Linked DNA regions of Homo sapiens: regions 2, 3 and 4 are each linked to region 1. The links are contacts of gene promoters, found by promoter capture Hi-C in blood cells and fetal thymus (Javierre and others, 2016). All regions are on one chromosome and are shown on one strand. Each heading gives the region's core, a stretch centred on a gene start or on the middle of the fragment in contact. The rest is flanking DNA. Distances are from core to core; before and after follow the strand shown.

Region 1 (7,778 bases), core at 375-2,874:
GCTGAGGTGGGCAGATTATGAGGTCAGGAGTTTAAGACCAGCCTGGCCAATATGGTGAAACCTCATCTCTACTAAAAAAAAAAAATACAAAAATTAGCCGGGCCTGGCAGCGCACACCTGTAGTCCCAGCTACTCGGGAGGCTGAGGCAGAAGAATCGCTTGAACCCAGGAGGCGGAGGTTGCAGTTAGCTGTGATCATGCCATTGCACTCCAGCCTGGGTGACAGAGCAAGACTCCATCTCAAAAAATAAAAAAAAGAAATCCTCCTGCCTCAGCCTTCCAAAGATTGCTGAGATTACAGGCATGAGCCACTGCACCCGGCATTTTTTATTTTGTTTTGTTTTTTAGAGACAGGGTCCCACTCTGTCACTCAGGTTGGAGTGCAGGGCACAATCATAGCTCACTGCAGCCTCCAACTCCTGGGCTCAAGCCATCCTCCCACCTCAGCCTCCCCAGTAGCTGGGATAACAGACATGTGCCAGTAAGCTCTACTAATTTTTTGTATATGTAGTAGAAATGGGGTTTTGCTACATTGCCCAGGCTGGTCTTGAACTCCTGGCCTCAAGTGATCCTCCCGTCTTGGTCTTCCAAAGTGCTGAGATTATACATGTGAGCCGCCGTGCCCAGCCAAGTTTCTGAGTTTTGTTTATTTTAGAAAGGAGTCTTCCTGTGCTGCCCAGGCTGGTCTCAAATACCTGGGCTCAAGTGATCCTCCAACCTCAGCCTCCCAAATAGTTGGGACTACAGGTGAGCACCACCATGCCTAGCCAATCTCCATGTTTGATTGTTAAGTGGAAAAAGCAAGGTGCACAACAAACATACTATGGTGCTGTTGCTAAAGGAGAAGCACAAGGCCTACACATGTTTCTATTTACAGAGGTAAGCTCTGGAAGGATATACAAAAATCTGGTCACAGAGGTTGTCTCTTGGGAGGAAAAAAAGGGGACTGAGGAGAAATTAAAAAAAGACTTTTCATTGTACATTCTTTTGACCCTATTGTATTTTATATCATTTGCACATTTGCTTATTTAAAAAGTTTTCAGAAATTTAAAAGCAGCTCTTTTTCCAAAGTGCTCCTCACTTCATGTCATGGGTCCTGTATCCTAAGTTCCCCTATTTCAATCACAGTGCAAATTTACCCTCCACAGGCATGCCTTTCCTGCATCTAGACTCACTAGAAATAGCTGATGCATCTCTCCTCCCTTGCCTGCCCTCCACAGGAAAAGAAGCAATGAAAAAAAAGAAAATGAGATCCTCTGGTCTCTGTCACCTTTTTATCAACTTGTACTACCTGCCATTATCTGACACCCACATCTTTTCTTGAATCTGCCTCCTCCTATGGGACAGCGACATTTTCTTAAGTTGCAGATGATGGAGAAAATTTTTTAAAAGAAAAAAAGGGGGCAGGGGGAGGGAAGCCCAGAGTTTGGCCAAATGCACGTTTTTCAAGTTCCTGCTTGAGCTTAGATTCCCTTTCCGCTTTAAGGACATGCCCTCTGGAAAGAAGGGTGTTTTGTTTCCAGCCCACACAGACCCAAACTTTTTTCATCACGTGCCTGGTCCGAGCCAGTACGCAGCTCTGTAATGAGATCACCATGGCCAGCCTCCCACCCGAGCAAAAACAAGGTTAGCCTGCAGCAGAGCCGCAGCAGCAACAGCCACCAAAGCGGGGGCTGAAAGGGAAGAGAACTTAGATTTGACCTGTGCAAGGACCTCAGCAGCTTGGACACAGCCCACTGCAGAGGTAAGTGGGAACTACGGGGGAGGGGTGGTGTTTGCAAAGGTCAGGACATGTCCAGGTTCACTTAAAGTAAGGGCAAAACAACACTCTTCCCACCTCTGCCACCACCCTGTCCTCTCTACTTATGGCAGGGTTAGATTTGCCTCTAAACAGGGTTAGATGGCAGGGTTAGAATTTGTCCTAGGACATTGCTGTAGTGCAGTCGCCTCCTTGTCTCTTACTAATGTCTGTATCCTCTGCCTGTGTTTGTACCATCTACCTCCTCAGTAGTCTAATTTTTCTAGCAATTGACAGGTGATTGTAATGGACAAGTAATTGTTTGACTTTAAAACCATTTGTAAAGGAGCAACTCCTAATTCAGAACTCAAATGAGAGGCAGAACAAACTGGAAGAGACTGTTGGGAAGCAACTGCTGCCTAATTGCTTCTCATCTCTACTCTGCCATCACCAGGAAGGTATGGGGCAAAATACAACAGTTTTAAAGTCTCTGGATAGATGTGTGGGCTATGAGCTAGACAAGTAGGTTGAAACTGTTTTGATGCAACATACTTGGATTTACCAACAGTGGCTCCAGTTGTGAAATCGTTAGTGGCTTGATAGTACCTATGGAAACACTCCACGAAGGTTATTGAGTAAAGGGCATACAGTAAAGTGTGTAGGTGGAGATGAACAATAGAACAGTGGCTTTCAGGACCTTCTGGGGCTTAAGGCAAGCAAGACAAGATGCTGATTTGTGGGTTGCTTCAGTTTCATGTGCAATTCCAATTAAATTTCTTTGAGTGGGATATACAGATTCAATTCAATTTGCTAAAACACAGATGCACTGAGCATCAGCTTCTAACTTTAGTTACGAAAGTAATTAGCACAAGGGAATGGTGCTAAAATGTTCCATAGCAAATGTTGAACACTTTTTGAGGGCAAAAAGCAATGCTTTTGATTCGTGTATCTCTTATTTATTCGGCAAATCTTTCTTGAGTATCTTCTACATGCCAGGCTTGGGCTTGATTCTGTGGATCTCGTGGTAAACAAGACAGGCAGATTCTCGGCCTCATGGACATGCAATCAAGCAGAACAGTAAGCTCAAAGGGTGCAAGTACCATGCAGCAAAAGGAGTGAAGAGAGTATTACTAAAACTGGCCCATGGGAATCATTTTTAACCTTTCCTTTCATGCATTTCATCTTCTGTTTTTGTTTTTTTTGTTTTTTGAGATGGAATCTCGTTCTGTCACCCAGGCTGGAGTACAGTGGCGCGATTTCAGCTCACTGCAACCTCCACCTCCTGGGTTCAAGAGATTCTCCTGCCTCAGCCCCCCAAGTAGCTGGGATTACAGGTGCCCGCCACCACACCCAGCTAATTTTCGTATTTTTAGTAGAGATGGGGTTTCACCATGTTGGCCAGGCTGGTCTCCAACTCCTGACCTCAGGTGATCTACCCACCTCGGCCTCCCAAAGTTATGAGATTACAGGCATAAGCCAACGTGCCCAGCCGCATTTCATCTTTGTTTTTTTTTGTTTTTTTGAGACAGACTCTTGCTCTGGCGCCCAGGCTGGAGTGCAGTGGCATGATCTTGGCTCACTGCAACCTCCGCCTCCCAGGTTCAAGCGATTCTCCTGTCTCAGCCTCCAGAGCAGCTGGGATTACAGGCGTGCACCACCACACCCGGCTAATTTTTATATTTTTAGTAGAGACGGAGTTTCGCCATGTTGGCCAGGCTGGTCTCAAACTCCTGACCTCAGGTGATCTGCCCACCTCGGCCTCCCAAAGTGCTGGGATTACAGATGCGAGCCACCGCTCCTGGCCGCATTTCATCTTCTTAAATGAATATCGGCCACTCTATCTTCTATATAAGCCTCAGATTAGTACAGATGTTGAGTCATAGCAGCTCCTCAAAACCCTCTTCACCAGAGGCTTTAAACTGTGTAATTACATTACAGGTCAGTCTCCTCAGCCCTGGAGGTCGACTGCTCAGCTTTTTCCTAGCATACAGTCTGAGAGCAGAGGCTGAAGTAAGGGGAGTTCTAATCTTTGGGTCAGTTGCCCTCTCCCTGTGTCATTTCTTATGAAATAGAAGTTATGCTATTCCCAAAATACATACAGCACTAGGCAAAGTGTTAAGAAGCCTAGATTTTGCCAGAAACCATGTGGAGTTTGGAGCAAGTCATTTCTACTAACTAGGGCTTCCTCCTTAGCTTATAAAATGGAAGGGGTAGACCAGATGAACATGAGGTCTTTTTTCTCCCCCCTCTAAGAGTAAATTGTCTCAACAATTTTACAAGTTGTTTACAAAACAATACACATTCACATAAAGGTGATGTATTTATATCTATAAAATAGGAACATTCAGTAGGCCGGGCATGGTGGCTCACGCCTGTAATCCCAGCACATTGGGAGGCCGAGGCGGGCGGATCACAAGGTCAGAAGATCAAGACCATCCTGGCTAACATGGTGAAACCCTGTCTCTACTAAAAATACAAAAAATTAGCCAGGCGTGGTGGCAGGCACCTGTGGTCCCAGCTACTCGGGAGGCTGAGGCAGGAGAATGGCATGAACCCGGGAGATGGAGCTTGCAGTGAGCCAAGATCGCGCCACTGCACTCCAGCCTGGGTGACAGAGCAAGACTCTGTCTCAAAAAAAAAAGGAACATTCATCAATCATGCAGAATATCCAGGAAACAAGAATATGAAAGAAAATCTGGGCCAGGCGCAGTGGCTCATGCCTGTAATTCCAGCACTTTGGGAGGCCAAGGTGGGTGTATCACCTGAGGTCAGGAGTTCAAGACCAGCCTGGCCAACATGGTGAAACCCCGTCTCTACTAAAAATAAAAAAATTAGCCAGGCATGGTGGGGGTGGGTGCCTGTAATCCCAGCTACTTAGGAGGCTGAGGCAGGAGAATCGCTTGAACCCGGGAGGCAGAGGCTGCAGTGAGCCAAGGTCATGCCATTGCACTCCAGCCTGCGCAACATGAGCGAGACTCCATCTCAAAAAAAAAAAAAAAAAGAAAGAAAGAAAGAAAAAAGAAAATCTGAAAGAGTTGGGCTGTAGACAAATAAAATTCAAGATTAAACCGTCTGTATTCCTTCCAGCCTCACCTTATTCCCATGTCCTTTACTCAGATTCTTGAAGTTGTAAACATTAGCTATAGCTTCACTGTGTCATTTATCTAGATTGGGGATTCTTTAATAAAAAGCCTGCATACTGAGAATCATCTGCTTTCAACAAAACCACATAGGCAGGGCAGAGTGGCTCATGCCTGGAATCCCAGCACTTTGGGAGACCAAGATCACTTAAGCCCAGGAGTCCAAGACCAGCTTGGGCAACATAGGGAGACCCCATGTTTACAAAAATTTTTTAAAAATTCGCCGGCATGGTGGCACAGACCTGTAGTCCCAGTTACTCAGGGGACTGAGGTGGGAGGATCACCTGAGCATAGAAGATTGAGGCTGCAGTGAGCTATGATTGAGCCATTGTACTTCAGTCTCGGCAACAGAGCAAGATGCTATCTCTAAAAAATAAAAATAAATAAAATCCTTGGTTCACACTAAAAAAAAAACAAACAAAAAACCAGAACCACACTAAAAAGTATCTAATTTGCTACTAGGGAGGCTGAGGCAGGAGGATCACCTGACCCCAGGAAGTCGAGGCTGCAGTGAATCATGATTGGGTCATTGCACTCCAGCCTGGACAGAGTGAAACTCTGTCTCAAAATAAATAAATAAATAAAATTTGGATAAACTCACAATAGAATATCAAATTCACTTTAAGGAAGTATCCATTCATTGTTGTAAAATATTAGAACCTTCGGCCAGGCATGGTGGCTCATGCCTGTAATCCTAACACTTTGGGAGGCTGAGGTGGGAACATCACTTGAGCCCAGGAGTTTGAGACCAGCCTGGGCAAAATAGTGAGACCCCATCTCTAAAAATTAAAAAAATAAATGTTTAAAAAATATTTACTTTTAGTACACTTCATTTCTTTCTGTCCTCTGAATGCATTCCATTCTAAAATAAGTATGCTATTATCCTCCTACTTTCTCTGGAAAATCAAAGTTATACGATGTTATAAAATAGGGCAAAAAGCATGTCTTATTCATCTTTCTATCCCATGTCTAGCATTGTCTCTGGCATCTGATAAATGTTTCTTGAAAGAATGATTAGTATTTTAGAGAAAACGTGTCCTTTGGTATTAACACACACACACACACACACACACACACACTATCTAGTTCACTATTCATGGCTAATATAGGCCAATCTCATGCTTTTGTGTCCCTTTCAATCCCTGACACTCACCCTGTGCTCTTCAACATCAATGTATTCTATACTTTTGTAGTCTCAGTTGGTATAATGAGCACTGAATTCAAGTTCTGCCACTAATATGTGTCCAGGCTGGGCGTGGTGGCTCACGCTTGTAATCCCAGCACTTTGGGAGGCCGAGGCAGGCAGATGATGAGGTCAGGAGATCGAGACCATCCTGGCCAACATGGTGAAACCCCGTCTCTACTAAAAAAAAATATATATATATATATACAAAAATTAGCTGGGTGTGGTGACGCATGCCTGTAATCCCAGCTACTCAGGAGGCTGAAGCAGGAGAATCGCTTGAACCCGGGAGGCAGAGGTTGCAGTGAGCCGAGATCACGCCACTGCACTCCAGCCTGGCAACAGAGTAAGATTCCATCTAAAAAAAAAAAAAAAATAGGTGTCCAACTTGAAGCCAAATACTAAATACCTCTGCACCTCTGTTTCTTCAGTTGGAAAATGGGGGCATCTGAATAGATGAGCTCTAATACAACTTCCAGTTTGTTTTTTTTTGTTTGCTTGTTTTTTGTTTTGTTTTTTGAGAGTCTTCCTCTGTGGCCCAGGCTGCAGCATGAGCCACCACACCTGGCTAATTTTTTTTATATTAATACTTTGTGGATATAGGGCCTGTGTTTCCCAGGCTGACTCAAGCAATCCTCCCGCTTCAGCCTCTCAAAGTGCTGGGATGATAGGCATGAGACACCATGCCCAGTCCAACTTCCAGTTCTTAAGACGGCACACTCCAAAAGGAAGAAAAAAAGAATTAGTCAAGTCACAGAAAGTAATGACTATGGTACTTCAGTGTATTAGTAAATGTTGTTGCTAGTTTTATTTGCCAAAATTTCTAACTTGAACACTATCATTAGCAAACAATGTTAAGGAGCTTCTTTGGGTGAAGACCCACTGCCTACCATGTTTGAGGTCTCCCCTAGAACCTTTCTGACTGACCATGTTCATGTAAAACTGAAAACATGTCTGCAGGCGGGCAGAGAGGCACAGAAAGCAAGCTGCTTTGGCATAACATATTCAGCAGAACAATACAATTGGAGGACTCAGTACCTAGATAAGTATCTCTGGAAATTGCATATGGCCATATTGGCGTAACTAAAGAATAAATGACATGTCAGGAAATGCTTTGTTTGTTCTAATGAAATGAGATGTCAACAGATAAATGCTGCTGCTCTTACAGCCGAGAAGCCTTCTCACCACCAGAAAGTAAGCAATCATTTTCCCTTTGGCCAGAAGGTGTACGTAGAGCAGAGGAGTCCAGTGTCAAACATACTTATCAGCCCCTAATCACTCAGTCTCAGCAATACGCAGTTTCCATAACATGGACACAGTGGGCATGATCAGCACTCTGCCCTGTAGAGTGAACCAGAGCTGTCTTCTTCCAGAGCCAAGATCTTATTGTACTGACAGTCATCCTAGTTCCTCTTGGTTTTTGTTTTTAATTTCAATATCTGATTCTGTTTATTTATACTTTATACCCAGCCTATATGTCAAAAGGGTTTGAGGTAGTTTCCAATAAAAGGATATATAGAACAGCTTCAAATAAATAAAAACTGATAAGAAACCATCAGACAATAACCTAAATCATTTTGGTGGGGAAGGTGTGATTTGTAGAGAAAATAAACAGGTGCTTTAAAAAGAGGGAAAAATGGATTGTCCAATTTTCTTTGCACACCATAAGAAAGCATACCACTTCTTCCAGAGAGGCAAAACTTCTGTGCACTTATTT
Region 2 (7,251 bases), core at 1,865-4,364, 3.1 Mb after region 1:
TCATATGGAAAAAACAAAAAAAAACCAGAACCTCAATTCATGTCTCACACCACATACAAAATTTAACTCAAAATGATTCAGTGTAATCAAAGTGTAAAACCCAAAACTGAACTTCTAAAGAAAACTTGCATGACACTAAGCAAAGATTTTAGACACACCAAAAGCAAATGAAGAAGAAAGCGAATTGATCACGTAGACTGCCTCAAAATTAAAACCATCTGCCCTGCAAAGACACCATCAAAAGAATGAAAAGGCACGCAGGCAAGCCACAGATTAGGAGTAAATATTTGCAAGGCATTTACCTGATTGATTGACTGACTGATTTTTTTTTTTTTAGAAGGAATCTTCCACTGTCGCCCAGGCTGGAGTGCAGTGGCGCTCACCGCAACCTCCACCTCCCAGGTTCAAGCAATTCTCATGCCTCAGTTTCTCAAGCAGCTGGGATTACAAGCACACACCACCACGCCCGACTAATTTTTGTATTTTTAGTAGAGATGAGGGTTCACCATGTTGCCCAGGCTGGTCTCGAACCCCTGGCCTCAAGTGATCCACCTGCCTCGGCCTCCCAAAGTGCTGGGATTACAGGTGTGAGCCACTGCGCCTGACCCATATCTCTAATTTTTAAAATACCTCTATCCAGAATATATAAAGTACTCTCATGCCTGTAATCCCAGCACTTTGGGAGGCCGAGGAGGGCATATCACCCGAAGTCAGTAGTTCGAGACTAGCTTGGCCAACATGGTGAAACCCCATCTCTACTAAAAATACAAAAATTAGCCGGGTGTGGTGGTGGATACCTGTAATCCCAGCTACTCAGGAGGCTGAGACAGGAGAATCACCTAAACCCAGGAGGCAGAGGTTGTAGTGAGCAGAGATGGCGCCACTGCACTCCAGCCCGGGCAACAAGAGCGAAACACTGTCTCAAAACAAAAAAATTAATAATTAAGTAACCAATCCCATAAAATATGAGCAAAAGACTTAAAGATATTTCGCCAAAGAAATTATATGAATGCCAAATGAAAAATGCTGATCACTAGCAATTACAGAAATGCAAATTAAAACCTGTGAGGTACCACTAAACACCTGTCACAATGACTAAAATTAAAAAGACTGACCATACACACTGTTAGCCAACATACTGGCAGAACTGGAACCCCCCAAACATCGCTGGTGGCAATGTAAAATGGTACAACCACTGTGGAAAACAGGGAGTTTCTTTAAAAGTTAGGCATACATCTACTACATGATCTAAACATTCCCCTATTAAGCATTTACCCAAGAGAAATAAAGGCGTATACCCATACAAAGACTTGTACACAAAGTTCAGAAGCTTTATTTGTAACAGTCAAAAAGCTGGAAACACACAGCTTCTGCCGTTTTTCAATGCCCACCAACAGGTAAACCAAAAAATTGTGATATGCCTACACAACAGACTAGCACTGAGCAATTAAAAAAAGAACATAATGTATTTACAAAAAAATTCTAAAAAACGCAAAGTAATCTACAGTGATAAAAAGATCAAGGATTTCCTGCAGGGAGAAGGGTGGAAGGAACAAGCAAGAAAGAGGGAAAAGGGACATGAGAAAACTTTTGGGGGTAATGGATAGGTTCACAATCTTGATTGTGGTGATGGTTTCATGGGTATACCTTCTTTTAAGAGTCTCCTGTGTCGCCCAGGCTGGAGTGCAGTAGCATGACCATAGGTCACTGCAGCCTCAAACATCTGGGCTCAAGTAATCCTCTCTGCTGCCTCAGTCTTTTGAGAAGCTGGGATTACAAAAGGTGTCTGAAATTATCAGGCAGTACATTTTAAAAACATGCAGTTTATTGTCAATTATACCTCAATAAAGCTATTTTTAAAAATTCCCCATCAATAAAACAGCCTGGAAAGATGTGAAAAAGATCCCTGGAAGGAAGGGAATGGAAGCCCGTATAGAAAAAAAGGAGTCTTAGAGGGCAATGCAAAATGTCAAATGTTAATTCTGAGTACGATAGTATTTAAGTGGTCTTTTTACTTTAAAAAAGTTGTCAAAAACACCAAGGAAAAACAGCAAGTGTTTGTGTGTACTAACTTGAGAATATATTAAATTTTTGTAAATTTTGTTTCAGGATTATGTCATGTATTCAAACATTTGATATCTGGTTCTCTAAATCGTGGGAATTTAGAAACAAAATCTTTTCCCAGAACTGGAGTAACATGAATACAGAAGCCAACATCTGTGCTCAGAGCAAGAAAAGTATCAACATCACTGGGCCTACTGTCAATCTATTTTTCCAAACTCTTCGCATTTACCACCTGTCACCTCCCTTCACAATTCTTCCTGACGCCTCCTTGGAGAAATGGTTGATTCTGGACCTGAGACAGGCAAAATGCAAGATGAGCCTGAAATACCTGGTAATTAATGAAAGAAAAAACATGCTTTTAAAAAACAGATAAGATAGGGAAGTGTCAAAAGGACAAAGGAGCCAAAAAAAAAAAAAAAAGCTGGAACAACATGAACAACAAAATAAACTGTGGCCAGCACAGTGGCTCACACCTGTAATCCCAGCACTTTGAGAGGCCAAGACAAGAGGATTGCTTGAGCCCAGGAGTGTGAGACAGCCTGGACGATATTTTATAAAAATATAAAATAAATAATAATCAAAAATAAGTAAACATCAGCAAGGATAATTGTGGATTACAACCCAAAGAATAAAATTAATATCCGTGGTCTATAGTGATATAAATGAAAAAAAGAAAAAACATGAAGAATACACAAATCTTCCTCACAGAAAATTTATACTGTAGAAGGAATGAGGAAAATAAAAAAAATCACCATTAGAACCCCGAAGTAATAATAGCTGCAGACGAGATCCATTAAAATGCTAAAATTAAGGAGGGGAACTTTATTTCCATGGCTTCGAAGCATCTCCCCCAAAATAATAACAGTAGCTTTAATATACTTCCACAAATTCACATTCTCCTCCCTCTAGAAAGTAGAGCCTAATTCCCCTCTCTCCTTGAGTGTGAGCTGGACTTGGTGACTAGCATCTAAGGAATAGTATCTAAAGGGGAAAAAAACACTAACCTGACAGATACCACCTGAACCAAATCATCAGGTTAAATTCAACCAGTTATATATTATGGACCCCCAATCTGATGTGATAAGGGTAATTTCTGTGGTATTCTTCCCCCAAAAATCTGTAACTTCAGTCTAATCCTTAACATCAAATCCAAATGAGATCAAGTGTCATGGTCACGAAAGACAAAAGGAAAGACAGAAACTGACACAGATCAGGAGACTACATACAATGTGGCATCTTGGACTGGATCCTAGAACAGAAAAAGGACATTAGTAGAAAAACTAAGGAAATCCAAATAAAGTCTTTCATTAACAGTATTTTATCGATGTTAATTTCTCAGTTCTGTTAAATGTACTTGGATTACATAAGATGTTAACAGTGGATAATGGGTATTCAAGACCTCTCTATTGCAACTCTTCCACAAATCTTACTTTATCTCAAAAATACTGTTTTCCTGAAAGAAAAAAAACTTCAGGAATCAGAATACTTAACAACTATCTTTTATCTTAGTGTATCCCTTCCCCACTCCAAAGTTAAAACCTACTCAGGTTCACAATTTAAAAAAATCTTTGTTCTTTCTCATCACGTGAAAAGATATGTTACAGTTAATACTAATGCTCATCCGCAAAATTCTTAAACAGATCAAGACAGGTGGATACACTCCAGGGAAATCTAGGCAACCTCAGTGCAGAAACAAGGGTGTACTTAAGGCACAGCCTATGGCTTTGCATAAACAGCATATGGGAGAAGCCTGCAAGGGCAGGCAGGTGTCACATTCATACATTCCAGATTCAAAATCCCTCTAAGATTTTTCAATTAAGGAAATAAGCTGGCTATAGTACCCTATTAGGTACCACATGCTTTTCAAAATAGTTTTGACAATTCGGTTTCAGAGCTCCAATTCACTTTTTAGTAAAAGTATGGTAATACCAAAGATGTGTGAAAGCACTCTCTAAATATGCAAAAGGTTACACAAATACATAATGATGCTTTATATAGCCAGTGAAGTTAATAGCCACCAAAGATTACATCCCTACTAAGTAGATGTGTATACCATCCAGGAAGCCAAATTTCTGTCAATCATCTTTAATCTTTACTTTTGATTAAGTACCTAAGATACAACACACATACCAAGAACTTATTACATGACAGACTGGCCACCTGACAGAAGAGGGACTCTATCACAAAGTCGCCTAAAGACCTTATTTACTAAGCTACAGGCTGTGAGGGCAATTTTTTTGAAATTGCTTTCCACCTTGTAAGACAGAATATTAAGACACTATTCGTGTGTGTGAATTATTCCTACTCTTAACCCTATCACCTGGCTTGCAACTTGACCTTCCCAACTAAAGACAGACAGGATGTCCAAGAATACTTTTTTAAAAAAAGTAAATAGCTGATTTCTGAGATATAAAATTATAAACCTAGTGTGCCACCACATTGTGATCACCAACTACATGTAAGATAATAGTTGCTGAATCTAAATTCAACTCCAGGGCTTGTACTGGAGTACTGGAAGGGCAGTACTGCACTACCAGAGATTTTTCCCACTTGCTTTTGACAAATTACTGGGGGGCGGGCGAGGCTTTCCTTTTTTTTTTTGACCTACCTACTTCCACAATTATCCATTCTTCTTTGTAAAGTCAGTAATAGTTTCGTCCAAGGAAGCCAAAGCACAATATAATTAAACAAACATACAATGCCTATTTAAATTCTGAAAGTTAAAAAAAAAATCAATTTGCAAAATGTTAAAAGACCAAGTGGGCAGTTTTATCAGACTGACAAAAATAAAGAAAAAAAATATAAAATTGGCTTTAGTCACAAATGTAAGCTTTATGTTAAATTTTATCTTTTAACACTAGCCCCATCAGTCCTAAGGACGATATAAAATTCACAAACTTTTACAAAAACTTAAAACTGCCTTCTGCCGTTCACTTTCTATGCAAAATACTAGAACGAGTGGGAAAAAAAAAAACCATAAGTTACAAAAGAAAAACTGCTCTAAGTAGGTCACAAACAAACATTACCAAAATCTCCTAATGTTCCCCTGGTGCAGTGTCAGCTCAGGAACAGCAAACTGAGTTAAACAAAGAACTGTCTACTTTTCTACCTGTAAGAGGTACAAAAGCTTAGACTTTTGTACCGGTAAGCAGCTCCAACAAAACTGACGTATGACTTGGTAGGGATGTAGGGCAGCCTTGCCAAGCCTTACATTACCACAATTTGCTTCAATTCACTTGTTCCTGATAAATGCACAAGTAATCAGTTAGAGCACCAGTTTGTGAAATAATCACGTAATTTTCATGTTCCTGCCCAAGTGATAACCATTTGCCTGAGGCCAAGAACTGTATTTTTTTAATATTTTAAGTAGAAACTAACGAAATTTTCCCTCAATAATGTGTAAGGTAATTTCATTCTATTTTGCCTCAAGCAGTAATAAAATTAGCTGGACTCAAGCTTAAACAGTTTAAATGTAGGTCATTCTAGTGTTTTTCCATTTGACAACTTAAATTGCTCAACTTTAAGTCTAAGTTAAAATGCTAATTCCATAGTTAACCAGTCTGTAAGGGCAAGTAACCGGAATCGCCACACCAGCAAAGTTCCAAGTAAATGTTACTTGGAACATTATTATAATACTGTTATAGAAACATGTTTATAGAAAGGGTTTCCAGAACACGATTATAGAAATCTTTATGTTTATAGAAGTGTTTCTATAACATAGAAGATTTATTTCACTAAGCCAAGGAGTATGTTGGCTTTTAAATAATCTAAAAGATGGTAACTACTAGAAAAATATAAGCTCCAGTCCCTGAAGAAAAGCATCTTGTTTCTGCATATACACAAGAACCCAGCAGAGTAAATGCTAAATAAACGGAGTGTACACAAACTTTCATCCACAGATCTCGACTGTCACAGTTGTTTTTTCCAACACATCTCCAACACCAGTAATTCATCCAGCATGACACGCTCCACAGAGGTCCAAATAGTATACTGTAACTGGGCGCCAACCTTTCTATTCCAATTCCGTATTTTAACCCACAGATGCTAGTGAGATCTTAAATTCGTCGCTTTGCACCTCATTCCCTTCAACTATAAAGTGAATCTTCTCAAGGTCTTTCTGCAAAAGTCTCCTCCAATTAAAAAAAAAGTAGAGAAAAAAAAATTCAACGTCTAAAACCGGAGCCTAACTTCCCGCTGGCGGGAATTTCCCATCAGCAATCTGAGATTCAAACCCGATGAGGAACACAGTCCATGTTCATTTGCACTTACTCATCGTTTTCCCTACTTTTTTCCAGAAGCTACGGTGGCGGCACATCTACCCAGGGCCTGTACAAGTACACGTAGAAAGGAAGCCCAAACCCTTTTCCTTTGTCACATTCCCACTTCCAACCCTTGTCTCCCTGGAAGCCCAGAACTAGCCCAAGTACAAATGCCGCTGCAGCCTTCTCGGCAGGTGGCCTTTTGAGGCTGATGCTGCCCCGAGGGACAAGTGCTCTGGGGGCAAAGACTAAAAACAGGCTTGGGAAGCGGGGAGCTCGGAGTCAGAGGGCCCGGCGTCAACAAATCCCCGCCCTTCCCGTGCGTGCCTGTGACCCCGCTCTCCAAACCCGTGCCTTGGGCCGCTAAGGAAGGAGGATAGCCGTACCCACCTCGCCAGCTCACTGCAAGAATCAAATGAAAGGCAGAAAAGTGGCTCCGCACAGTGCCGGACACACAGTGAGGGCGTGGAAAGAACATTGGTTGTTACTACCACTCCGTGCACTCGCTGCTCCCTCTTTGCTCTCTGCAAAACCGAAGGCGCTTCTGCGACGCGCGGACCGCAAGACTCCAATCAGACTTTAGTGCTGCCCCCACCCTAAACGAAAGCCTCCTTCTGGTCCGAACCGACTGGATCCCTTGGCCAGGGGAGGAAAAGGTGCCGCGGGCGCGTGGCGGAGAGGGTGGCGGGCGGGAAACGCTGGGCGCGGGACCCCTGGCCCCAGAGACCGCCCTGGGGCCCAGGCGGCGGCCGCGGCTTACTCCTGCCCCGCGAGGCCGTTGGACGCAGCACGCGCACGCGGCGGACACGGCCACGCGCCCCAGCCGGGACGGGAGCGGGAGCGAGGAGCCGCCGCGCGCCCGTCCGTCCGCCGCGCGCGCCTGCGGCCGTTGGGGTGGGGGTTGGGGTGGGGGACGCGACTGGCGCGG
Region 3 (7,970 bases), core at 3,560-6,059, 3.0 Mb before region 1:
TCCCAGAGGAAGACAGCAGGAAGCTGTCAGTCAACCACACTCCTTGCAACTGGTTCTCTTGAAAGTAGGTCTGAATGGTGCTTTTCCATGGCTGCCATACCCATGTACCATGAATTAAACTCCCCCAAGGGAACTCTAGGGAGGTGACCGCATGAAATAAGCAGTCAGTGTCCATTGTCTACACTGCTTCTCACAACACACATCATTAACATAACTGAGTATATATGTATATATATATTTTTTTTGAGATGAGTTTCGTATGCGATCTCAGCTCACTGCAACCTCCACCTCCCGGGTTCAAGCGATTCTCCTGCCTCAGCCCCCCGAGTAACTGGGATTACAGGCATGCGCCACCACGCCCAGCTAATTTTGTATTTTTAGTAGAGACAGGGTTTCTTCATATTGGTCAGGCTGGTCTCGAACTCCCGACCTCCGGTGATCCACCCACCTTGGCCTCTCAAAGTGCTGGGATTACAGGCGTGAGCCACCACATCCGGCCTTTTTTTTTTTTTTTTCCTTCAAAACGTGTGTTGGTTTGGCCTTACTAAAAGTGTCAGCTCATTTAGTAAAAAATATATGTTTTCCTGAAGAAGAGTGGGTGGAGCATTTTCTCATTTATTTTTCTACCATGAACATATTTGAATTGCCACAAAGAAGTTACTATGGAAACTGCTCTCGAACTTGCAAGATAAAAGGTAAAAATGGAACACTTTGTTGAAATGCAAATAGTCTCTGGAGATCACTTTTTAACAAAGTCTCCGGGTCTGATTTTTCTGAGTCCTTTAAAGGCTCTCTTGAATTAGAAGCGGACAGGCAGATTTTTTGGCTTTACATTCCAGATGGCTCCAGCTGACTGTGCAAATGTCACAGGTGACAACTCTAGGATGGGTCTAGACGTATGCAAACTTGGTTTTGGAATGAGCAAAGAGGCTGACAGTGCCCTGCTGTGAACACCCAAACAGGCCCAGGGGAGGGAAGGTGGTTGTTTCTGGGCCAGGCCCGTTCTGCAGGTGTACTCTGGACTCACTTGTTTGAAAGTTAACTTGCTGAGCTCTTATTTATGCAAAGTAGTTTCTCTTTCTTATCTCCTCTGGCCACATTCCATCTCTGGGATCTTGAGCTGGATAGTCTTTTCAACAAAAAAACACAAACTTCTTATTTGAAAGCCCTATTCCTCTACCCATCTCTGCTCATCTTTACCTGCCTCTCCCCACCCACCTCTCCAACTCACTTCATATCAGCCCAAGTACTCCTACCATTACAAAGCTCTGAGATAACTTTGGATTTCTGCTTGTTGTAATTTTCTGCCTGTCAATTCCTTCAACCTTGCTTCTTTCTCTTGGGGCCTCAATCCGAAAGCCTTACTGAAACTTTTTTCAAAGCTGCTTTCGGTAATTAAGTGAATGCAACTTGGAGAGGGTTTCCTGTAGTCTCAGCTACTTGAGAGACTGAGGTGGGAGGATTGCTTGAGCCCAGGAGTTTCAGATCAGCTGGGGCAACAGAGTGAGACCTCCAGCTCAAAAAAAAAAAAAAAGAAAAAGAAAAAGAAAATAGAAAAGAGGTGGTTTCACTTGAGGGACCAGGGTCCGAGGTTGTTTATTTGGGATTATTGTTACCTAGCTTCATGACTAGCAACCATCAATTTCACTTCTTTGTGAATTGGAGTCTTTATTTGATCCTTTCGAGGGATCCTTCCATTTCAACCTCCTAAGTAGCTGGCCTCACAAGAGTGTGCCCCAACGCCTGGCTTTTTTTTTTTTTTTTTTTTTTTTTTTAAAGACTGGGCTGGCAGGGGGATCTCACTTTGCTGCCCAGGCTGGTCTCAAACTCCTGGGCTCAAGTGATCCTCCTGCCTTGGCCTCCCAGCCTCCCAAAATGCTGGGATAACAGGCGTGAGCCACTGTGCCTGGCCTGTAATGAACTATTGTAGAACCTAAGATTGGCCTTTTAAGACGTCTTTTCAGGCTTTTGCATTTCTGACAAACGGATGACCCCACCCAGACCAGCCACTCCTCTGCTGGCCCTCCATCAAGAAGCCGATTCAGCAAAGGAGAACCATTTTCCATACTCCTCTGATTGCATCCCTAACCAATCAGCAGCACCCATGCCCTAACCCTCTGCTCACCAAACTATCTTTGAAAAACTCTAGCTTCCAAATGTTCAGGAAGATTGATTTGAGTAATAACTCTGTCTCTCAAGTGGCATGGCCAGCCTCATGTCAAACTCTTCACTGCAATGACTTGGTCGCAGTGAATTGACTTTATCTGTAAAGTGGGCAGAAAGAACCCGCTAAGCAATTACACTATATGCAATTATCTTAAATGTTTCCTTGATTATTATATGTTTCTTCCAATTACGTTTGAATTCCAAGAGAGCTGGGTCTTTAACTATATTCCCCACTTCTGGAACATACAAGATGCTCAATAAATATTTGTAGAATGAAAAGAACTGTAAAATTTCAGCAGATGGATCAAATGAAACTTAAGGTTGCTTGTAGCTTTAACATGAGCATTGATAAAAATGAGTAAGTAGAGAAGGAAGTGATGACAACCATTGCAACAAAGCAATGGAAGCAATGTGCATATTTATCCTTAAAAAACACAAACCTGTCATATGTATGTGTATGTGTGCGTGTATATATAATGTTGGCTTTTTAGTTTCCCGTGGAGTGTGAACTGAGTTTCTGAGGTTTATAGTAAAGCATTTAACAAGGATTTCAGGTAGTTGTCTAAATATAAAACATTGTATCATAGAATTAGAGCGGAAAAGGATTTAGAATACAAGTTCTTCAATTTTACAGGGGTGGAAACTAAGGCCTAGAGATCTAAGTGTACTTGGGCATTGGGAAATAAATACAGCGATGTGTCTGTCGATGAGGAATGCGTATGCCAATCATACTTCTGTATAATCATTACTAATAACATAGTAATACTGCCTTACATTTGAAAAGTGTTTGAGTGTGACTAGACCCTGCACCAGTGGTTCTGAAACTTGAGCGTGATCAGAATCACCTAGAGGATTTGTAAAAGCACAGATCGCTGGGCCCCACCTCCAAAATTTCTGGCTCGGTAGGTCTGGGGCCGGGGACTGGGAAAGCTTAAGAGAAACCATCCCAACTCCTCTCAGCTCTCCCAACTCAACCTCTCAGCTCTCCCAACTCAACCGGCCGAGCTCGGCACTCAGGGAAAACTACAAGTCCCGGCGTGCCCCGCGCGCAGCGGCGGAAAGTCGGACACTTCCGCTCCACGCAGCGCCTGTGCTGCCGCGTCTCGACGTGTCACCGGCGGCGCCGCTGCTGTGGCAAAGGAAGGAGCTGACTGGGGGAGTTCGAGGCGGCGGGCGGCGGTGACCCCGGCCTGGAACTGCCCCGGTACGGAAGTGTTCCGGGGTCCGTGGGGAGCAGGAGAGGGAGGCGGCGGACCGTCCCGCGCGGGGCACGATGTTGAACATGTGGAAGGTGCGCGAGCTGGTGGACAAAGCGTGAGTATCGGGGGGCAGTTGTGGCCGAGGCCCACGTGGGGGAGGGGGGAGGGGGAGAAGGAGCTGGCCTTGGGCTAGGGGTTGCCCACGTCACGCCCCCTGGCTCTGCCAGCCCCATCATGGCGGCGGCCCGCTCCTTCCCGGCCCCGGGCCTCATCCCCGCTGGCGAGGCTGGGGAGGGACCCTCCCTCGTTTTAAAAAAAAACATCCTCTTGGCCACCCTTCTCTCCTTTCCAGGCCTTCCCGTCCCTTCCCCTATTCCAACCCCTGGGTGCCGACGCTTTGGTCATAAGGGGCGGGTTGTTTGGCGCTGGGTCACTGCCCTGGCCGGAGGACTGTCTTGGCCCCAGGCCGTGGGCTTTGCCTCCTGGGGAGCAGGGAAGGTTTGGGGGTGGGGGGCACAATGCACTGGTTCCCTGTGTCCCTCAAGGTGTAGTACGGAGAGACCTTAGACCTGGTTGGGGTGTGTCTTTTATCTTCCTTGCCTCCTCTTAATTCCTAATGAACCTGAAGTGTTGGAGTGGGTGGTAGTAGTGTAACAAGTGGCTATTGTGGTCAGCCTGAAGTTACTCAAGAAGACACTCATCCTTTGCTTTTCTAACACTAGTGAAAGTAGATCACTATATGACTTCTTGCGATTTTTTCTTCTGTTTCTTTTTCCACTACACATCATTTTTGGTGTGCTACTTGTTCCATTCGATTAAATTAAGAGGTCATTAAGAAATGTCCTCTTAAGGAAAAAAACAACCCAGGTTTATATCCTGTTGATCTGCTTTTAAAAGCAGGTAAAACGACCAGTACGTAGTTGATTTCCTTTAAGACTGAAATAACTTTAGTCTCTTACTTGCACAAGGAAAACCTTAACTTTTAAAATGAGTATATCAGGTATAACAGTGGTTAAGTAAGGTCTTCTAGGCCAGCAGGAAATAAAGTTTAAGAATTTAAGCAGTCCTCTTCCTTTGGGGCTTTAATGATTATGCAATAAGTGTGGTGAGAAAAACAGTTGATTTGTGCCACCCACCTAACCTAAAATCAGGAAGTATAGATAGCAAACTGTTTTCTTGACACCAGGAAACAAAGTAATTTCCAGTGCCTTGTCTGATACATCAGATAGAACTTAGAGCTTGACCATATTTTTATATTTTCTGTGCTACCAAGAAGGCAATAGAGTGCCTAAGGAGCACAGGTTTCAGAACCTGCAAAGCTGGGTTCAAGCTTTATAACCTTGGGGAAGTTACTTATCCTCACAGTGCCCTAGTTTTCTCTGGTACAAAATGAAAATGCAACGATACCTACCTTAGAATGTTGTTGTGAGGCTTAAGGGTTAAGGGATTGTATTGCATATAAAGCCCTTAACAGAATATGTTTATATTAGTGTACTTTTGAAACTAGCAAATGTTTTGCATTTAGAGTGAAATAAACCTCTTTAAGAAAGAAGCTTCAAGTTTGAAAAGTGATTTGCTTTAATAATTTTCCTTTATAACAACTCATTTGGCTATTAAGGCTTCAGCTATTTATTTCGGACTATTTAGCTATTTATATATTCTTTGCTTTTGCTTACCGAAGATGAAATAAACTAGATCTTTTCCAGATCTAGGTTCATTGGCATTTTTTTAGTATATTGTGTAAAGATTAGGATATCAACTTAAATAGTTTTTTAAAGGCCAAAAGAAGACTAAAAGCTACCTTTTTTTTTTTTTTTTTTGATGGGGTCTCATTCTTTTGTGTGTTCATAACTCACTGCACCCTCCAACTCCTGGGCTCAAGTGATCCTCCCACCTCAGCCTCCCAAGTGGCCAGGACTACAGGCATGCATCACCGTGCCTGGCACTGCCTCCTTATTTCTCAGTCAGAGGTCAGAAGAATAAAACCATTAAGAAACACCTTGTTCTCTTAGAGGACCAAATTTGTGGTACTCAAAAATTTGAAGAGGCTGTACATTGTTCGTAAGACAGAAATCGAGGCAATATTCCTACTATTGTTGTACCTTTCATATTTGCTTATCACACTTGTTACTAATCTTCACGTGCTTTAGGTTAAATTTGCCATGTAAGTAGTTATCTAAAGGAAAAGCTATTGTTGAAAAATATTATCTATCTTTTTACTACCCAATTTAGGATGTAGACTTGAACCAAATTATTCAAGAACATAGAAGAATGTTGTCACCAAAGACTTTTTAAGGCTTTTGTGGGTGTCTGACACATATTAAGATTAGAACATGAGGTTGATTTACTGATGAGTACTCGGGATTTTAATTTTCATCTTTTCACTGGCAAGAAGAGAAGAAATTCTTCCCCCCAAATGTAAGCATCTTACAGAACCGTGGATCTGTTAGACTGTGCACCTTATAATGCCATAATAGACGTGCATCCATAGAATGGTTGGTCTGATTATCAGAGGTATAAAATGATGAAGGAACTTGCAAATGAAGAAGCAGTGACGTGATTAAGGGCTATTCAGATAGATGGATCAATAGAATGAGGGCTTCTATGAGAGAAAGGTTAGGGGTTTAACTATCTGGTTCATATTCTGGCATTACGTTTTTAATTAGCTGTATGTATGATTTGAGGCAGAATCACATGAATCTCCAGACTTTGCCTTCCTTATCTGTAAAATGAGGGGACCTGGCTAGAGTAAGACTTTTTCCACCTTTGATGGCTATTGGAGAAATGCATTTCCATCAAGGAAAAATAGTTGGAACTAGTTTTTACAATAGCAGACAAATTTTGGAGCCATTATCCTCTGTAGACAATTTAGGCTGAAAAGGGAAATTTTCTTAAAAAGTGGTAATCAATAAATGTTATACTTAAATATTTTATGCAATAAATAAGACCATGACTCAGGAAGACTAGGACTTTTAGTGTATATTGATACCCAGTGAGGTTTTACTTCAGAAAAAGAAATGTACTCTGAAAAATGTGTTTCCTGGAGCCACTCTTAGATTCAGTATGGTAGCGGCTCTTAAGTGTAATGATGTATTTCTTTTTTTTTTTTGAGATGGGGTTTCGCTCTTGTTCCCGGGGCTGAAGTGCAGTGGCGAGATCTCAGCTCACTGCAGCTTACACTTCTGGGGTTCAAGCGAGTCTCCTGCCTCAGCCTCCCTAGTAGCTGGAATTACAGGTGCCTGCCACCACACCCAGCTAATCTGTGTATTTTTAGTAGACACGGGGTTTCGCCATGTTGGCCAGGCTGGTCTTGAACTCCTGACCTCAGGTGATCCACCCATCTCAGCTACTCAAAGTGATAATGATGTATTTCAAACACTGGCTTTTGAGACCTTGAAGACTTTTTCTGGAAGTGGGGGTATATTTTCCACAATCGCTGCACCTCCTGGTGGCAGTAGAGGGATTTGTTTTGCAGAACATTGTGGAACTGAGGGAAGCAGATAAAGCCATAGGCCTGCCAGAGCTTGGAATGCCAGTATCTTCCCACTCGTCAAGTTGCATAAAAGGCGATGTGGCAGGAAAGGATAAGTGGCACCATTCCCACCAACTAGGAGCACTAGCTTAATCATTGTCATCCTATGACCTATCTTTACTTGTGGCTGTAATAAAATTGGACATGTTTATATTTTGTCATCCTATACATGGTAAAATTGAAAGTTGCTGCAGTTCTATTTTCTCTCTAGATTTGAGGAATGTAATGAAGGTGACATGGTAGTGGTAGATCAAAACTGCTACTTATTTGTTCAAGCTCAGCGAATCCTTCTCTTTCCTTGCAAGGAGTAATATTAGTGGTAAATCTCTTTCATCAGTGACCCGCCCCCCCCCCCGCCTTTTTTTTTTTTCGGAGACAGTTCACTTTATCCCCCAGGCTGAAGTGCAATGGCGTGATTTCAGCCCACTGCAATCTCTACCTCCCGGGTTCAAATGATTCTCCTGCCTCAGCCTCCCGAGTAGCTGGGATTACAGGCGTCTACCTCCATGCCTGGCTAATTTTTGTATTTTTCATACAGCTGAGGTTTTGCTGTGTTGGCCAGGCTGGTCTCAAACTTGTGACCTCAGGTGATCCACCCACCTCGGCCTCCCAAAGTGCTGGGATTACAGGCATGAGCCACCTTGCCCAGCCTCAGTGGCCCTTTTTTTGATAGTGATTCAAACAGCTCTGGCTAAGGTCCTAAGGCAACAGCTATGGGTAGTCCATTTTAAGTTATTCTCCTAAGCATAGCTTGCATTTTCCCTCATAAGTTGATTTTTATTGATGTATATTTGCTTGGTTTTAGTTCCTAAATGTTTAGATAATGTAATAGAGCTGTAGAAACTGCTGTTCTAGTCTCCTGACTCCAGAGGGAGAAACTTTTGCTTTTATAAAGAATAGTATATTCATTTATTTTAACAGGCAATACATTTGTTATTTATTGGATTAGTAGTCTGGTTTCTTTTTATTTTTTATTTTTGAGACAGGGTCACACTCAGTTGTCCAGGCTGGAGCACAGTGATGCAAACATGCACACTGCAGCTGGGACCACAGCTGCGCCTCCATGCGTGGCT
Region 4 (7,683 bases), core at 4,578-7,077, 3.2 Mb after region 1:
CAACTCCCTGGAGGGCCTGGCTCTTGGCTTCCTTTATTAGCCTCTAGGCTTGTTTTCCTCTCTTTGGGCTTGTTTACCAGCAACATGTGTTTTTGGAGCCCTTGTTTCCAAGCCAAATAGTGAGAGTGAGATGCTTGGCTGGTATCAGCTGCCCAAGTAAGAGGCCAGCCCTGGGCCTGGTCTTCGTCACTGTATCCTCTGGAGGCTGGACTTACCCAGACCAACAGGGGCAATATGTCCTTTGTTCCACCCAAACACCCCTTTCTCCCTGGGCTTATAAAGCACTGGAATTTTGCACTGAATTCTTTCGGGGGATGGAGATTCTGGGAACCTCGGACTTTATAAGATGCTCTTCCCAACGACAACATTGCTTACCTCTTTATTTGGATTCTCTTGTGTAAATCACCCATGAGCCTTTAAAGATTGGTATGTTATTGTTTCCATTTTACACATTGGGGAACAAATTGAGGCCCCAAGAGGTAAAGTTGATTTCTAAAGGTCATACAATTACTAAGTGGTGAGCCAGGATTTGAACCTGTATATTCTGGCTCCAGAGCCTATGAGCTTACCTTTATGCTATACTGCCTCATAGTTTATTATCACTCTGTCTACCATGGTAGCCACTAGCCACATGTGGCTATTTAGATTTAAGTTGATTAAAATAGATGGGCATGGTGGCTCACGCCTATAATCCCACCTCTTTGGGAGGCTGAGGCGGGCGGATGGCTTGAGGTCAGGAGTTCGAGACCAGCCTGGGCAACATAATGAAGCCCCATCTCTACAAAAAAGAAAAGAAAAGAAAAATTCGCTGGGTGTAGTCACAAGTGCCTGTGATCTCAGCTACTCGGGAGGCTGAGATGGGAGAATCACTTGAGCCCAGGAGGCAGAGGTTGCAGTGAGCTGAGATTGCGCCAACCACACTCCAGTCTGGGTGACAGAGGGAGACCGTGTCTCAAAAAAAAAAAAAAAAAAAAAAAAAAAAGATGTTTTCCACTATTCTCTATTGCAGTATTTCAACAAGGTATGGGTTAAGTAAGATATTTTGGATTGGCCTCAGTCCTTTTGCATAAAATTTTTAAATAAAAAAATTGGTTAAAATGAAATACAATTTAAAACTCAGTTCTTCATTTGCACTGGCAACATTTCAAGCATTCAGTAACCACTTGTAACCAGTAGCTATCATAGTGGACCACGTAGATATAGAATGTGTTCATCATCTTGGGAAGTCCTGTTGGGTTGCATTACTCCATAAGTTCTTTCCACCCAAATAAGATTTAATGATGGCAACTCAGTTTCTTTGCTTCACATCCTAAGTCTATCATTCTGAGACCCACAGTCCATGATTCTATGATTCTGAGGTATCCCCCCTGTTCTAACGTTCAGTGGCTTTTTAACGTCCAAGGAGAGCCCAAAGGAGGCCCTTTATGTTTTGAGGGACAAACCTGGGGGCTGGCTGTACTTTTCCATCCTCAGAGTCTTTCCAGAGAGAGAAGTGACCTCAGCTTCAGGTCCTGCTGGCAGCCAAGGACGGGTTTTCAGCAGTCTCCAGAGCAAATAAAGGCAAAAGGAAGGGACTCGATGTACGGAACAGGAGGCAGTGGCGGCTGGGAGGGGGCTAAAACTGTCTGCATTTGATGGCCACCATGCCAAGGGAAATATGCCTTCTCTTCCTCCCCTGGCCCTGGGCATTTTCCTTCCCAGGAACTCAGGCCAGTTCAAGGCCCAACTGAGCCCCATTCAGGTGACCACCTGGGAGCGGGTAGCTGCCAAGGGAAATAGTGTGCAGAGGTAGAGACATACCAGTGGTGGGGTAGGGTTGCACGGGTTCTCACCCTAGCCCTGCCACCCAGTCACTCACTCACTGCTGTTAGCCGTTGGCAGTTTTCTCCTTTCCTCTAGGCCTTGGTCTTCTCATCTGTACTATTGGGCAGAAATATGTGACTTGAGCCCCCAGTGGGGTGCTGGATTATGAAAACACCCTGAAAATGATAAATGTATGCATCATCACAGACTAAAGAAATACAAAGGAGGGAGTTTTTGTTTAATATTGGTCATTTATATGAAGGGAATTTAAATTTTCGCCAGGCACGCTACACCTAGGTTTGATTGGCAAAGGATCACAGCTGTGAGTTCTGAATGCTGGGGTTTGATACTGTGTTCTGACCTTGCTGGGGTGACTGTTATACTCCATTAGCTTTGCAGGATGGACACAGGGCTCTTTGGTCAGTGGTAGTTTAGAGAGCCTCAGAGAGGTATCTCGTGGGGAGGCAGGGAGATGGCTGTGCATCTGGAATAGTTCAGCCGCTTCCCTTCCCTCCCATCTCATCATCTGGGGGAAAAGTGCTCTTGGACTGGTGGTGTAGCACCGGGTGCTGGGCAGGACCCAGATTTTGTGTTTGTGTTTACAGTTTTCTTCCAAAACTTTTAAGGTGTATTCCAAGATTTTGCGTTCTGTTCTTAACAGTCTCTCTGCATTTCTCCCCCACTCCCACTTGTCTGAGCGTAATTCCTATTAGGCTCACCCCAACTCCATGAGTGAGAACGCTTGCCTATTTGGAGAGGGCCTGAATTGTTGCATGACTTTGGACAAGTGCTTCCTCCCTCTCAACCTCAGATTCCCCATTAGGACAGTGGGACTAAGAACCCTTCCATGCCTGTCTGCCTACTTCCCAGCATTGTCAGAAGGCTCTAGGAGACAGTGTTATGTGACAGTGCTTTAGAAACTATGAAGCAGCACTATAAGACTTAGAGTTATTTTTCTCTTCTGGCTGCAACAGCAGGGATGGGGGTGGCAGGGAGGGTGAGTGTGCAGCTGGAAAAGGAATTCAGGAAGATGAGGAGGCAGGACAGACAGAAGAGCCGCCCAGCGAAACCTTCCCCTGGTCACAGAGGGGAGCGCGGTTACTCTGCTCATATGAAGGACGCAGACTCAGGGAAATGTCTGTCTTCCTGTCTTTCTAATCTGAAGCTTACTACATTTCCAGTCCTAGCTGGGCTATTTCTTCAATAACATGACTTCCCTGTCATTATAGCTCAGACAGGGTAACTTTTTGTTTTGTTTTGTTTTAGCTGCTATTTCACTTTGATCCTTCAACCTCAAACTATCTCAGACAAGTCCTTCCTTGATGTTTTCTTTTCTGTTCCATTTGTCCCAAGCCACATGCAGGAGTTATTTATCTTGCGTCTTCCAAAAGGGGAAGCAAGAAGGGAGATTTTTCCACTTAAGCCTGGGGAACAAGTGAACAACTGTGTGAGGGGAGGAACATTCCACAAGCTGCCTCAAAAGGGAAGACTAGACTCCTCTGGAAGTTGGGGTTATTGTGAAGCAATACCAAACCCCCAGGTCCTTTACATTTCTGTTAGTTTTACTTCATTCACTCTGTGCAATAGGGGGTGAGGTTTTGTGTCTCTTTAAGCCCAAGAAAGGACCATTATGAAGTGGGCTCTTCCTCTGCCTGTTTCTGCTTCCCAAATGCTATAGTACAAGTGAAGACATATGATCCCAGAGGAGACCATATGTGTCAAGACCAGAATGTGCTTGGGGTGTCTTAAGAGCATTTTAAGGACCGAGGCTGCCACTTCAAAGTTCACCTAGTCTACCCATTTCAATTGATAGATGGGGGAACCAAGGTCTAGAGAGACCAAAAGACTTGATACTACTGTGGTAGAACAAGACCCCCTGGCATTTAATTTCAAGCTGAGTATTTTTCTCCATGATGCCGGGTTACCTCCCACCACCATTTGGTCAGTTGAGAAGTCTTGGAAGAAATAAGGGATGATGAGCCTGACAGGGAGGTTTTGGGAGAAGAAAGAGGGAAGACATGGCCACTGTTGCTCCTGATGGAAGGTTATTTGTGGGTAGAGAGAGCAGGTTTGTTCTTTGTGGCTGCAGGGGAGATGGGGTAGACAGATCAGAAAGTTTGAGGGAGGCACATTTAGATCAGTAAAAGAAAGAACTTTCTAAAGTCACTTGAGAATGAAAAGCCATTTAGTTAGTGCAAGAAATGAAATGTCTCCACCACAGAGCCTCTGTTAGGAATAGCATTTTAGTTTTGAATCCTCAGAGGAGATACTGCTCCAAAATCCCTTATAGTCATGAGAGTATTAGAGTCTAGAGCTTGGCATTTAGAGAATGAGGCCTTAACAGTTACCAGAACAGAGGTATTTTCTAGATCTCAGCTAACATCCCCTCTGCAACACATGGAAGCATCTGGATGGTTTCCGTACAGGACCTAAAGAAGTGCTGTCTCTTCTGGGTAGAATGGAGAAAAATGTGGCCACCCTCAAGTTTCCATGGGTTACATTCCAAGACTATTGTTCTTTGTTTTAGAATGTGGATCTCATTGTCCCAAACTGGCAAGAAGTTCCTGCCTATTAACTTCTCCCATTGCAGAGGGAGTAGGAAGGAGGGGGAGGAGGCGACAGAGGAGGAAGAGGAGAGATTGGGTTTAGGGAAAAAAATAATTTTAGAATATCAGGGATTGAAGGGACCTTGAAGATGATCTGGTTTGGCATTGCCCAAACTTAACTAGTTAGCCCATCACCTTAGTTGAATCACTTTGCAAAAACTTTAATAAATGTATTACAAAAGCAGATTTTATATCACTACCATAAATGGAAAAAACTCTGTGTACCTTTGTCATAAATAGAAGGAAACTGTAAAAACAAACACATAAAAAAAACAAAACAACTTGATTCAGTTCCAGCTGGATATAACTTCCTGTGGAAGCTCTGAGCTGGAGGCTTATTCTCTTTTTGTTAAAAAAGGAGATAGATGAGTATAAAGGAGGTGTTTAAGACATCTTGGCACCAAACTGAGACTTTCTTCTCATATAAGCAGAATTGAAAGAATATTAAATGGAACCAACCTCCTCATGTTTTTCACTATCATTTAACTTGTACCATCTAACATTATCTTGCACATATCAGGAATTCAGAAGGAAATCTCCATAAGGAAGTCTCACCCTCACTGAACTCTCAATCTCTCCTCCCCATAGGGTTCCCAGCACCATGAGGGCCTGGATCTTCTTTCTCCTTTGCCTGGCCGGGAGGGCCTTGGCAGCCCCTGTAAGTACCTAAATATCATGTCTTCTTGTTTTCATTCCTACCGCTAGCACCAGGGGTTCTGAGCCTGCCAGCCCTGGATGCTGAAAGGGAACAGGGACTTCCCCATTTCAAGTTAGTGGTCTTTTTTTTTTCTTAAGTTAGGAAGCTCGGGATAAAAACTGGGATGAGGACCATTGGGTGGAGGTATCAGAGAAGAGAGAGTTCCATGTAATGTTAGATAAACTTCTTAGTAGTCAGAGCCTCCCAGCAATGAACTAGGATTGCTTTAGAAGGAAATGACCTCTTTGTCATATGAGGAATTCAAGCAGGCAGGAGACAGGATGTGGGGGATTTCTGGTAGGGGTGGTATTAGAAGAGATTCAAGCTATAGAGAGAGGAATGTGTTGGCTTCTGAAACAGTGAGGGTTGTTTGGTTGTAAGCAACAGTTCAATCTGACTAAATTGGGGAAGGAGGGGAAGATACAGAGGTAGATTATAATATTAAAGGCCTTGGGGAGGACTGGAAAAGGGCAGCTCTAGGCTTTGGGAGTTAAGAACTAATGGACAGTCTCTGAGATATTGCTGTCTGAATGAATCAACTCCAGCAATTTTCACATCTTGAGAGAATGTGCCAAGAAGGTTTTTATAAATTCAAAAAATGAGAGCCAATCTGGCTGAGCTTGGGTCCTGAGCCAGCTTCTTGGCCAGGTGAGAGTGGGGCCCCTTGATTGACAGACAGTTCCTCGAAGCATTGCATGCAGGGACAGGAGTAGTTATCCACAGCTCATCTGGAAGCCTTCACAAGGAGAGGAGGAAGAAACAGGGCAGGCAAAAAGTGCAATTTCTTTCAACCTGTGATCCCCTCATCCTCTGTTTACTAAGAAGTGGGAGTGATGGCAGACCCTGGCAATCTTGATCAGGCTGGTAGATGGAGGCAAAAGTTTCTCAAAGTTGGCATTAAGTTTTGAAGCAGCTCCAGCCAGCTAAGGGCCTCAAAGTTGTGTGTTTTCTTGCTTCCTCCTACTCCAAGTTGAAATGGCAAGAAAAATTGCCTAATAATACTACTAATAATATCACACTGTGAGGAAGATGATGACATCTGTTAAAATTCACAGTGTCATCCCCTCTGGATGTCAATTTTCCTATCTGTAAAGTGAAAGAATTGGTCTGGATCAGTGATTTTCAGACTTTATAAGAATTCAAAGCAGCAGAAATACTTTTCCAAGCTAAATCTTAGGTAGACACCTAGGATATAAAATATATAAAATGGGAGCTGCTTGAGTGTTCCACGGTGCTCACATGACTGGCTTCTTCTTTGTTCTGTCCCTCACCATGGCAGTCCATGAGGCACAACTTTGGGGATCTCCAGTAAGCTGCTCTCCAAGCTCCCCTAGCCTGTATCCGAGGCCACAGGCACTTTGGAGGTGAAGCTGGCCTTATTCCTGACCCCTCTGAACGCTACTTTCTCTTTCCAACAGCAGCAAGAAGCCCTGCCTGATGAGACAGAGGTGGTGGAAGAAACTGTGGCAGAGGTGACTGAGGTATGTGGGCAGTGACCGCAGCCCCTTAGCCCCTCTCTACCTGTATCTGTGCCCTGAGAAATTAGGGCGGATGCTGTGGGTCTCAATGCTAGAGTGGGGCATTCGTCTCCCTGTACACACATAGCATAGATGCAAACCCTGAGTATATCCCACATCCTGACACACTCCTGAATGCTTCCCAAACCTTCAACGGAACCCTACGTTTGGGGACCAGGACCTTAAAATTTTTGTTTTTTAAGCTATGCAACAGTTGTTCTTCCATGATTACCCACAGTTTTTGCAAACGTAAAACAGAGGAGGCCGGGTGCGGTGGCTCATGCCTGTAATCCCTGTAATCCTTTGGGAGGCCGAGGCAGGCAATTCACGAGGTCAGGAGTTCAAGACCAGTGTGGCCAACATGGTGAAACCCTGTCTCTACTAAAAATACAAAAAATTAGCTGGGCGTGGTGGCGGGTGCCTGTAATCCCAGCTACTCGGGAGGCTGAGGTAGGAGAATCGCTTGAACCCGGGAGGTGGAGGTTGCAGTTAGCCAAGATCTCGCCACTGTACTCTACCCTGGGCGACAGCATGAGACTCCATCTCAAAAACAAACAAACAAACAAGCACACACACACACACACACACACACACACACACACACACACAGAGGAAAGGGGAGATGCTTGGGTGTGGCTGGCAGGGGTGGAGGCTTGACACCCTCTTGTGAACATAGATCTCAGTCAATTTAGAAAGTTTACTTTGCCAAGGTTAAGAATGTGCCTGTGACACAGCCTCAGGAAGTTCTGAGACATGTGTCCAAGGTGGTCGGGAGTACAGTTTGCTTTCATACATTTTAGGGAGACACGAGACTTCAATCAACATGTCTAAATTGTGCATTGGTTGAGTTCGCTAAGGCAAGACAACTTGAGAAGTGAGGGCTTCCAGGTTAGAAGTAGATAAGAGACAAATGGTTGCATTCCTTTGAGTCCTTGATCAGCCTTCCCCTGAATACACAATTTAATCTGGCTCAGTGAATCTGCATTTTTACATAAACAATAGGGGAGAGGAAGCAATCAGATAAGCGTTTGTCTCAGGTGAGCCTCAGAGGGATGACTGC

Evidence for each region. The method cuts DNA at HindIII sites, captures the fragments that hold promoters and counts their contacts. A CHiCAGO score of 5 or more calls a contact.
Region 2: a contact is called between a fragment that was not itself captured here and the fragment with the promoter of FAXDC2 in region 1, in 2 of 17 cell types (erythroblasts and naive CD8 T cells). The highest score is 6.8, in erythroblasts.
Region 3: a fragment that was not itself captured here is called in contact with the fragment with the promoter of FAXDC2 in region 1 in 2 of 17 cell types (naive CD8 T cells and naive CD4 T cells); the score reaches 6.4 in naive CD8 T cells.
Region 4: a contact is called between a fragment that was not itself captured here and the fragment with the promoter of FAXDC2 in region 1, in 1 of 17 cell types (M0 macrophages). The highest score is 5.1, in M0 macrophages.

The regions. Positions count from the first base shown.
Region 1 is chr5:154,844,449-154,852,226 of GRCh38, reverse strand. It overlaps FAXDC2 (fatty acid hydroxylase domain containing 2), which reads left to right and starts at 1,624. Exons shown (of 9, transcript NM_032385.5): 1 at 1,624-1,744. The HindIII fragment of the contact is 21,500 bases long and covers 1-7,778 here.
Region 2 is chr5:151,772,131-151,779,381 of GRCh38, reverse strand. All of the region lies in intron 1 of G3BP1 (G3BP stress granule assembly factor 1), which reads right to left. It overlaps LOC100652758 (a long non-coding RNA gene), which reads left to right and starts at 7,206. Exons shown (of 2, transcript NR_132345.1): 1 at 7,206-7,251. RefSeq lists silencers at 6,802-6,871, 6,922-7,251. The HindIII fragment of the contact is 3,564 bases long and covers 1,333-4,896 here.
Region 3 is chr5:157,854,440-157,862,409 of GRCh38, reverse strand. It overlaps CLINT1 (clathrin interactor 1), which reads left to right and starts at 3,265. Exons shown (of 12, transcript NM_014666.4): 1 at 3,265-3,480. The coding sequence starts at 3,440. RefSeq lists enhancers at 2,977-3,216, 3,054-3,635. The HindIII fragment of the contact is 223 bases long and covers 4,698-4,920 here.
Region 4 is chr5:151,673,516-151,681,198 of GRCh38, reverse strand. SPARC (secreted protein acidic and cysteine rich) reads left to right here. Exons shown (of 10, transcript NM_003118.4): 2 at 4,998-5,067; 3 at 6,525-6,587. The coding sequence starts at 5,011. CLMAT3 (colorectal liver metastasis associated transcript 3) reads right to left here and starts at 4,254. Exons shown (of 5, transcript NR_109873.1): 1 at 4,152-4,254; 2 at 1,863-1,979; 3 at 1,443-1,543. The HindIII fragment of the contact is 5,714 bases long and covers 2,971-7,683 here.